Linked DNA regions of Homo sapiens: all the other regions are linked to region 3. Evidence: promoter capture Hi-C in human tissues and cell types (Jung and others, 2019). All regions are on one chromosome and are shown on one strand. The core of a region is centred on a gene start or on the middle of the fragment in contact, and the rest is flanking DNA. Distances in the headings are between cores, read along the strand shown.

Region 1 (3,643 bases), core at 846-3,345, 34 kb after region 3:
TAGCTGGGTGTGATGGTGGGCACCTGTAATCTCACCTGTTTGGAAAGCTGAGGCAGGAGGATCTCTCGAGCCCAGGAGGACCACTGCACTCCCGCCTCCTGGGGGTGCCATCACATCTCACTGCAACCTCCAATTCCTGGACAACAAATACAATTTCTATATGCAACTAACATAATCATAGTATTTTATAAATATTGACCTTTTAAAATAAAACTGTCACATCACTGTTTTCTTTTTCTTTTCTTTTCTTTTCTTTTCTTTTTTTTTTTTTTTTGAGACAGAGTCTTGCTCTGTTTACCAGGCTGGAGCACAATGGCACGATCTCAGCTCCCTGCAACCTCAGCCTCCCAGGTTCAAGCAATTCTCCTGCTTCAGCCTCCCAAGTAGCTGGGATTACAGGCATGTGCCACCACGCCCAGCTAATTTTTTGTATTTTAGTAGAGACGGGGTTTTACCATGTTGGCCAGGCTGGTCTCGAACTCCTGACCTCAGGCGATCCACTTGCCTTGGCCTCCCAAAGTGCTGGGGTTACAGGCGTGAGCCACCGTGCCTGACCATATCACTGTTTTCAATACATCTAATAAAACAGAATACTTAATTGGTTACTCACTATCACTCATTTTTAAAAAATACATAAGCAAATCCTATATTACAATTACTAGAACCTGGCCAGTCATGGTGGCTCATGCCTATAATCCCAGCACTTTGGGAGGCTGGAGTGGGTTAATTGCTTGAGCCTATGAACATGAGACGAGCCTGGTCAACATAGCAAAACCCCATCTTTAGAAAAAAATACTAAAATTAGCCAGCCATGGTGGCACATGCCCATAGTCCCAAATACTCAGGAGGCTGAGGCGGGAGGATTGCTTGAGCCTGGAAGGTGAAGGTTGCAGTGAGCCAATCACACCACTGCACTCCAGCCTGAGTAACAGAATAAGACCTTGTCTCGAAAAAAAATTATTGGAAGTTTTATATTATTCTTTTTTCTAGTTGAACTTGTATTTCCACTCCACTTGCCCAGCAGAACTATATCCTATTGTAATATATTTTTATGCTTATTTTAGTAATCACCTCACTTATCTATAAGAAAAAAAGTTTATACATTTTAATTTTAATTAAGAATTTAATTTAAAAATCATAACCATAAGATTCTGAGTATTCAAAATTCCCTTCTGAACCTGGTCTGATTAATATTACTACTAGTAGCCAAGTGAGCAAAATAATATAAATAGATTATAAATTTGTTTACAAATAAGAAGTAAAACTGGAGTGGAAATAATCTATAATCTCTTACTGGGAAAAATGTGACTGTTTTTCATGTATTCATGGGTAAGTATTATTTACGAATGGATTGAAAGAGACAGGATTCGGCATCAATTCTACTTTTAAGAGAACTTGTATGGGCAGAAGTCCTGATAAATATTGGTTGGTATAGACAAGTGGATAGAAATGGCAAGTGTCTGGTTATATTCAGTTACTCGCTTATCTGAACTCTTTCATATTATATGCCAAAACATGCATACAGACCTAGCGTCCAAAAAATTTTGTATAATTTATCAGCTGACAATGTGAGCCCTTCTTCAATTTTGTTGAAAGCAAAGAATTGGAAGCCCTGTGGTTTGTACAAGCACTTGCTCCCAATCATTGGAATCAGGTTTCTTGCCCTACACCAGTATTCCAATGGATGTTTTGCTTCCTGGAGGACTCTGGGGGAGGGGAGTAGACAAGAACTGGCCTTCTGCTTGTAAACTAGGAGAAAAGGCTTTCTTTAGGAACGAGTCTGTGTCTAAACTGAGACTCTAGAAATTGCCTTTCAAACAGTCCATGCTCTCTGAGTCCTGCAGAAAGTATCCAGGCACCCCCGAGGGTGCACACACCCAGGGCTAGGAGACCTCAGGTTTATACGTCTCTTTCTTTTCTCTTTCTTGGGGACTGGTTCTACCGAAACATATATACATATATGATATATACACACACGTGTATATATCTCATATATATATATATATATATACACGTGTATATATATATATAACAGATAACGTATAATTATAATTATATTATCTGTAATATATAATTATATATATTTTGTATTCTATATATTATATACTATGTATTCTATATAATATATATTATGTATTCTATATAATATTATATATTAAATTCTATATTCTATATTATATTCTATATTCTATAGAATATTCTATATTATATTCTATATTCTATAGAATATTCTATATTATATTCTATATTATATTCTATATTTTCTATATTATATTCTATATAATATTCTATATTATATTCTATATAATATTCTATATTATATTCTATATAATATTCTATATTATATTCTATATAATATTCTATATTATATTCTATATAATATTCTATATTATATTCTATATAATATTCTATATTATATTCTATATATTATATATTATATTCTATATATTATATATTATATTCTATATATTATATATTATATTCTATATATTATATATTATATTCTATATATTATATATTATATTCTATATATTATATATTATATTCTATATATTATATATTATATTCTATATATTATATATTATATTCTATATATTATATATTATATTCTATATATTATATATTATATTCTATATATTATATATTATATTCTATATATTATATATTATATTCTATATATTATATATTATATTCTATATATTATATATTATATTCTATATATTATATATTATATTCTATATATTATATATTATATTCTATATATTATATATTATATTCTATAAAATATTATATATTATATTCTATATAATATTATATATTATATTCTATATAATATTATATATTATATTCTATATAATATTATATATTATATTCTATATAATATTATATATTATATTCTGGGCCTTCTCCCAGACTTCGCTCCCCGGCCTGCACTGGAGTCACGGGGCCCTTCCCCGGCCCTATAAAGCGGTTCCTCCCACTGCCACCCTTGCTCAGGTTCCAGACTCCAGAGAGAACTGTATCACAGGCCTCCTCCCTCAGCAACATGACAGAGGGAGCCCGAGAGAACTCTGGAATAAAAACAGAGGAGAAAAACCTAAGCTGACAATACCTGGGGGTGCATAAAACAGATTCTTGACATGGTGAGCAATTTCCGTGGAAACGTAAATCTAGAAACTAACAGATGCAGGTTTGTCTACGCAGGGGCCCTGTATTACGGCAGCAAAGTGGTTCCAGATTCCACCCCGTCTTGGGCCAATCCTTCACCAACGCCCGTGATCTCCATGCTGGCACAAGGATCTCAGGTGCTAGAGTCCACGCCACCCCCACATGTGATGAGAGGTAACGCTTCTACACTGCTTGCACGTCCCAGAACTCAGCCGACCATAATCCTGGGAAGCATTGTGTGCATGAGGCCAGGTGCAGCGGCTCACGCCTGTAATCGCAGCACTTTGGGAGGCCAAGGCAGGCAGATCACCTGTTTTTCTATAGAAATACAGCTTATTTTGTTTGTTTTTAATCATGTATTTACAGAATCCTAGTTTTGTTCAGTCTTTAAAAAAACCTTTCTGCAAACAGTTTCAGTGGGAGGTTTGGGTAGTAGCTGTGGTCATGCCAGGAAAATGTATTTCTTTGTGAGAGT
Region 2 (3,703 bases), core at 330-2,829, 51 kb before region 3:
CCTTTCATTATTTTCTTTCAGTCTAACCAGTCTTTAGCAACCATGAGAAGTCATTATGGAGGTGGGAGAGAACTTTAGAAATCATCTAACTCTGCTCCCCTTTGTTTTAGAGAGAAGGCTGGAGCGTGGCAGTTGGCTGACTCCACGCACCAAATCTCTACTAACCCTTAATGCTTCTCCTTTCTGAGAAAAACAATACAGGGCCGGGCGTGGTGGCTCATGCCTGTAATCCCAGCACTTTGGGGGTCAAAGCTGGTGGATCACCTGAGATCAGGAGTTTGAGACCAGCCTGGCCAACATGGTGAAACCCCGTCTCTATTAAAAATGCAAAAAATTAGCCAGGTGTGATGATGGGTGCCCATAATCCCAGCTACTCAGGAGGCTAAGGCAGGAGAATCACTTGAACCCGGGAAGAGGAGGTTGCAGTGAGCCAAGATAATGCCATTGCACTCCAGCCTGGGTGACAAGAGCAAAACTCCATCTCAAAAAAAAAAAAAAATACAGCCCATGTTGTTATTGAATGAAACAGGAGAAAAAGGCACTTCCCCAACTGCTAGATTTACCACCTCGGGGAAATCATTTTACCCCTCTGTAGACAGGAAATGGCATCGGTTCTGAATCACCTACTTGTGCTAATACAGTCTACGTAGTGATGTTTCATTATATTTAGGGGAGAAGGAAAACAAAATGCCATTTTTATTTTTATACAAGAAAACCCTCCCCCTCCCCCGCCCCATTCTATACACTTCCTGAACAGGATGCACACAATGGTCAGAGTTGGGCACAGGCACAGACACACATATGACTGGTCCTCAATGAGGTATGATGCCCAGAGTCATGCTACCTGCTGTATTGACTGTATTTTCTTGTTTTCTATATTCTTGATGCTCTGGCATTTGGGGCTTTGATCCTGGAAAGACCGTCCCTCCCAGGGCTGGCTTGTTCCTAGGAACAGCAGACAACCCTGCTGCAAGCATACCTTTGATATATAAACCGACCAATCCATAGCCACACATCCAACCATCTCCCATATCAAACTCATGCACCTCGGCTGGGCACGGTGGCTCACGCCTGTAATCCCAGCACTTTGGGAGGGCAGGGCAGGCGGATCACCTGAGGTCAGGAGTTTAAGACCAGCCTGGCCAACATGGCGAAACCCATCTTTACTAAAAATACGAAAATTAGCCGAGCGCGATGATGCATGCCTGTAATCCCAGGTACTCGGGAGGCCTCTAATCCCAGGTGCTCGGGAGACTGAGGCGCAAGACTCACTTGAACCCAGGAAGTGGAGGTTGCAGTGAGCCGAGATCGCACCACTGGGCTCCAGCCTGGGCCACAGAGTGAGACTCTGTCTCAAAATAATAATAATAATAATAACAATAATAATAAATAAAACTCATGCGCCAAGCCAATACTCCCCCTACCCTAAATCTCCCCAGGACCAGGTACCTGACAACTAGAGACCAACCCTACAGCCAATCCTAAACCTCCTCAGCCTACCTACTACCCTGCCTTGCCCATTCCTTCCCATGAAAACCCCAATGCAGGCTCTGAGACACACACTGTCCTCTGCACCTTCTGCCCCTGACCCACCATGGTGCTTCCCCATGTGTCCTGGCATGGTATGCTGCTGCCCCTGCCTCCAGGGATCTGTGAGTATGAAATTCCTCCTTCATGTCAGTCATTTCTCTGTCTGTGTATCTTACCACACTCAATAGAAACAAACCCTGAGCACAAACTGTAGAACACCTGCTGCAAAGCAGACACCAAGACAGACCCTGCAGTCAGGAGGTTAAATGATGGCAGCGAATCCTCTTGGGAAACCCAGGCCAGGATCCATTCAGCACCATGGAAATTCACACACAAAGATCCCCCTGCTTTCCAAAGAGTAAATATTTTGTGTGTATGTATGCCAGGGAGCTTCATAAAAAGGGTATCTAATTAATTCAGAATAAAATCAAACAAATTCCTGTGGTCCTGGCAGTGTTACGGGAGTACCAGCTGTTGCCATCCACATTCTATTCATTAATTCAAGCACGGAACATTCAGAGGATGACAACTGGAGGGAGATGGCAAGAATGCAGGCTAGAAGGAGACTCATAGGATGAACTGAGCTCCAGAGGCAAGCAGGAGGCGCATCACGCAGGGTTTCACACATCCTTGGAGCTTATCCCACGGGTGATGTGGAGTCACTGAAGACATGCACGCAAGAGAGTGATGCGCCAGGTCTACCACTGGAAAAATCATTCTAGTACCAACTGGATGGTCAGTAAAGTTCATGTTAAAAATTTATGATAGTTGTAAAAGTAAGACTTTCAAAATTCTAAGAAATTTCTAAGAAAATCTAAGAGGTTATATAAATGGTCTAAGCTAAGGAGTCAAGAAAATCTTTGTACCCTTAGAGGCTACGTGTACAAAGCCTCTTTTTCCTTTCCTTTGAAAGGAAAACATAAACTACTTATTACTTAGGAACTGAGCACTTTTATGTGGCAAACATACCAGAAAGAAAGTTAATAAATGATAGATTCAGAGAGGCATTCTTCCAGTTTAGAAGACAGAAGGTATCTATCACATACAAAGGTCTCTGATAAATTGACAATGAGGTGGATAAAAAACACAATAGAAAGATGGGCAAAGGACCTGGAAAAAAAAAAGCAATTCACAGGAGAACGACTCTGAATGGCTAACAAATATAATTTAAAATGTCCAAATCCTTGTTATGGAGAATGGTTTGAGCAATAAAAGAAAAAAATTCCAAATTCGTACATAGGCAGGGAAATGCAAGTTAAAGGAACAATGAGATATCACTTCCTAAGTAAGAGATTGGCAAATTTAAAAGAGTAATTATATCAGTTGCTGGCAGAAATGTGTGTATTCATCATTGCTGATAGACATGGTATGAATACAGATAGTGTTAAGAGTAATAGTATTCAAAAATTAATCTGACATCTATCAAAAAAAAGGTTGTTTTTGAGACAGAGTCTTGCTCTGTTGCCCAAGCTAGAGTGCAGTGGTGCAATCTCAGCTCACTGCAACCTATGCCTCCTGGGTTCAAGCAATCCTCCCGCCTCAGCCTCCCGAGTAGCTGGGATTACAGGCATACACCACCACGCTTGGCAAATTTTTGTATTTTTTAGTAGAGATGGGGTTTCACCATGTTAGCCAGGCTGGTCTTGAACTCCAGACCTCAGGTGATTCACCCCCCTCAGCCTCCCAAACTGCTGAGATTACAGGCGTGAGCCATCGAGCCTGGCAAAATTTAAAATGTATATGCAGTTTGAATTGTAAGTCGTAGAATTAAAAATACCCACATAAAAGAAGAAATGAAAGTGTTTTTTGAAGGATTGTGTACAGGGTGAAAAAATCTGGAAATAAATTGAGAGTTCATCAATAACAGAAAGTTTAGTAAATTATAATACATATAAATACAGATTTAAATACATATAACTGAGAGGCCCATTTGGTGTATTAGTTAAGAGCATGGACTCAGACACTGAACTGGACTCAAATCCTGGCTCTACCACCTCTTCCCAGCTGTGTCGTCTTGGGAAAATTACTCTCTCTGAATTTGTTTTCTCATCTGTAAAATGCCTCAAATAATTGTTATAAGAGTAATTGAGGGCCAGATGCAGTGGCTCACGCCTGTAATCCCAACACTTTGGGAGGCCGAGGTGGGCGGATCACCTGAGGTCAGGAGTTTGAG
Region 3 (3,482 bases), core at 543-3,042:
AGGACTTTGGGATCTGAAGACAGAGTATCAGCATGGAAAAAAGTCCAGCCTGCTTTTGGTTTGGTTTATTCTGAGATAATTCTGAATATCAGATTAAAATAATCAGAAAGGAAATGATCAATGGAAGGAGGTATGATTTTGAAAGTCACTGCTGTTTTTGGGAGAACATGCCATTGGGTTTTTTATTATTTATTTATTTTTTTCTTTTGAGACCAAGTCTTGCCCTGTTGCCCAGGTGGAATGCAGTGGCGTGATCTCAGCTCACTCTAACCTCCGCCTCCCCAGTTCAAGCAATTCTCATGCCTCAGCCTCCCAAGTAGCTGGGATTACAGGCGCATGCCACCACACCTGGCTAATTTTTGTATTTTTAGTAGAGACGGGGTTGCACTATGTTGGCCAGGCTGGTCTCAAACTCCTGACCTCAGGTCATCCACCCGCCTCAGTCTCCCAAAGTGCTGGGATTACAAGTGTGAGCCACCGCGCCCAGCTGCCATTGGGTCTTAATTCTCCAGAAACAGTATCTCAGTCAAGAATGCAAAGCTGTGGCAGGATTTTTCCATGAGGGGTCCACTGAGGCACTCACTGGCCAAGGTGGGCGCTCAACTAGTCCAACCTAGGCAAGGGAGGGGAGAATCTGTTTTCTCCCTTCCATTATTTCAGAAGTTATGTTTCTCCAGCAGACACACGGCTGTGCAATTTCGAAGACTGAGGGGAAACTAGGGAGGAAAATGCAGAAAACTCTCTGTTGCATGCCCTGTGAATTGGGCTTTAAATGTAGCAAGGAGCTCCAGGATCCCAGAAGTTGGCCTGGGGTGCTTGGTCCTGAGGATAAGACAACCTCCCTTGTATTGTAATTCTGCCCACAGCTGGAGCTTCCTATTTCAGTGTTGCATCCAAGAAGTTACATTTCCTGTTTGTTGCAAGAAAAATAGAATCTGACCAGGATGGAGGCTAGGCATGGGGGCTCACATCTGGAATCCCAGCAGTTTCGGAGGCTGAGGCAAGCAGATAGCTTGAGCCCAGGTGTTCAAGACCAGGATGAGCAACATGATGAAATCCCATCTCTACAAAAAATAGCCAGGCAGTGTAGTGCACACCTGTAGTCCAGCTACTCTGGAGGCTGAGGTGGGCAGATTGCTTGAGCCGGGGGAAGTTGAGGCTGCAATGAGCTTTGATCTCACCACTGCACTCCAATTCTGAGACTGGGGAGTATTGATTTGCCACTGACCTGAGCCCGGCTGATAGGGGCAGCAGGACAGACACTGTTACCTTAATCAAAGACATTCACGAAGCATTCTCACTGAAGATCTGCCCTAGTATCCTGCACAGCCACTTGCCTGGGTCTTTATAGGTAACAGGTAGACAGTCATCAAAGAGATAGGGGAAAACATGCACAATGAATTCTTTGCTCAGAAAAACCCTTCTGTGTCTTCTCCCACTTTTTCTAAATTTTTCCTGCTTTCATTTAGATCAAAGGATTTTGTTTCTTGGAATAGTTCTGCACTTGGTCCTTTAGAAAGGATGACAATTATCTGTAGGTCTCTCTGATTTTAAGATCAATAGAAATCAGCAAAAGCCAAAAAATAAAAAATAAAAATAAAATAAAAGCACACAAGCACATTCAAGCACATCCATCTGCCCCTGACTTGTCCTCACAGTAAGCAACTGCTTCTGACTTTGCTGTTTGAATAACCTCTGGGTGTTCGATCCACCCACACAGCTCAAGTTTGAGCTCCAGAACAAATATTTGTCCCAATTTTGAACAAAGTTAGAGAGTTTTTTCTTCTTTTTTCTTCTTTCTTAAAGCGAACTGTACTCCTCTGCTGTTCCTTTGAACTTGGTTCAGTAGGAAGAAGTGATATCCTCCCCAGACCATCTGCTTTGGGGAGCTTGGCAAAACTGTCCAGCAAAATGAAAAGACTCACGTGCTTTTTCATCTGCTTCTTTCTTTCTGAAGTATCAGGCTTCGAAATCCCCATAAATGGACTTTCTGAAGTAAGTACTTACAGATCACTCCTTGCTGTTGGCTTGTTCATGAGCTCAGTAAATCATCTATTGGAATCGCTATTCAATGGCCTTATTCTGTGTGTAATGGAAACTTAAGATAAAATTCATCTGAGTGCAAGTGTTTACTGTTATAATTACTGGAATGTATATTTACCTTTTAAAGCATTAACAGGTTTTGCATGAAAATTAAGTCAAGATCAATGGGCAGGCATCAGAGCGTAGCATTTATGGAGCAGAGCTGCTCACTCCTCACCTAAAAAATTGGGGGTAAGAATAGACCTAACCCAATGGTTTGCTTTGAGAATTAAATGACACAGTGTAAACTCTTCTAGCAGAGCGCCTGGACTAGTAAGTGCTTAATAATTACTAGCTGTTATGATGATGAAGAAATATTATCACTCTTTTACTAAGAGTATAAGAAAAGTCATTATCAAAGCACACTGTTTTTCATATCTAAGTGAACAGTGATATTTGTAATAAGAGCACTTTAAGTATTCCTATTAAAGCGGAAGATAGCAGGCAGGGTGGAAAAGTACAAGAATAATTCCCATGGAGTACAGGTCTCCACTTTTGTCCCTTAGCCATCTCCAATGTAAGGAAAGTCTTGGACTGAAAGTCTGTTTCTGAAAGTCATACAAGAGCTATTTTTATGCCAGAAAAGCGAAGCATGTTATGGGAACATCCCAGCAAATGCAAAGGCTTATAATACTTGCAGAGTGGATTACCTATAAAAATGCCAGAGAATATGACGGCATATTTACAAAGGGAAAATATCACTCTGTCTGCTTTGAAACTATCATATTTTCCAACACTTAAAAGCCACCAGAGTGTGTTAGAAATCTCAAATTGAAGCCAAGACATCCAAATGTGTTTGTGCTTTTTCAGTCATTTCTAACTGGCATTTCCTTTTAGAAAATACCTACATTTTTAACTTGGGGAGATGTATGGTTCATGTCTGTCCAGTCAGACACTGCAAATGCCTCCAGGGTCTACCCAGATACTTCCCCAGACACCCACCTAATCACTGGGTTGTTTTGATCTCTGTCTTACCACCTGCTGGCAAACTCAAAAATGAATTCCCATGTCCAACAAATGCGAAGGTGTTGTTACCCTCCATTTGGACACCTCTGAGACGTAACCAGCAAATAGAAATATACTAAAGAAATCATTTTATACAAAATTGTGATTGCCCAGAGGTAGAGGAAAGAATATAAAATAATGAATACCAACAGCTATCTCTTTGGCTCTAGATCTTTTGGAAATCATCATTCTCAGCAAAGTAACACAAGAAGGGAAAACCCAACACCGCATGTTCTCACTCATAAGTGGGAGTCGAACAACGAGAACACATGGACACAGGAAGGGGAACATCACACACTGGGGCCTGTCAGGGGGTGGGGGGCTAGGGGAGGGATAGCATTAGGAGAAATACCTGACGTAAATGATGAGTTAATGGGTGTAGCAAACCAACATGG

The links. Contacts are between HindIII fragments. The study calls those that stand out against the background at their distance.
Region 1: a fragment that was not itself captured here is called in contact with the fragment with the promoter of ITIH2 in region 3 in 4 of the 25 tissues and cell types used here (neural progenitor cells, spleen, stomach and 1 more).
Region 2: a contact is called between a fragment that was not itself captured here and the fragment with the promoter of ITIH2 in region 3, in 2 of the 25 tissues and cell types used here (aorta and stomach).

Annotation. Positions count from the first base shown.
Region 1 is chr10:7,735,417-7,739,059 of GRCh38, forward strand. It overlaps ITIH2 (inter-alpha-trypsin inhibitor heavy chain 2), which reads left to right. Exons shown (of 21, transcript NM_002216.3): 16 at 3,205-3,342. Among named protein-coding and RNA genes, the nearest start is that of ITIH2, 34 kb to the left of the region's middle. The HindIII fragment of the contact is 7,154 bases long and covers 1-3,643 here.
Region 2 is chr10:7,650,253-7,653,955 of GRCh38, forward strand. The region is part of intron 2 of ITIH5 (inter-alpha-trypsin inhibitor heavy chain 5); the gene reads right to left. Among named protein-coding and RNA genes, the nearest start is that of ITIH5, 15 kb to the right of the region's middle. The HindIII fragment of the contact is 9,278 bases long and covers 1-3,703 here.
Region 3 is chr10:7,701,524-7,705,005 of GRCh38, forward strand. ITIH2 (inter-alpha-trypsin inhibitor heavy chain 2) reads left to right here and starts at 1,793. Exons shown (of 21, transcript NM_002216.3): 1 at 1,793-1,995. The coding sequence starts at 1,912. The HindIII fragment of the contact is 26,123 bases long and covers 1-3,482 here.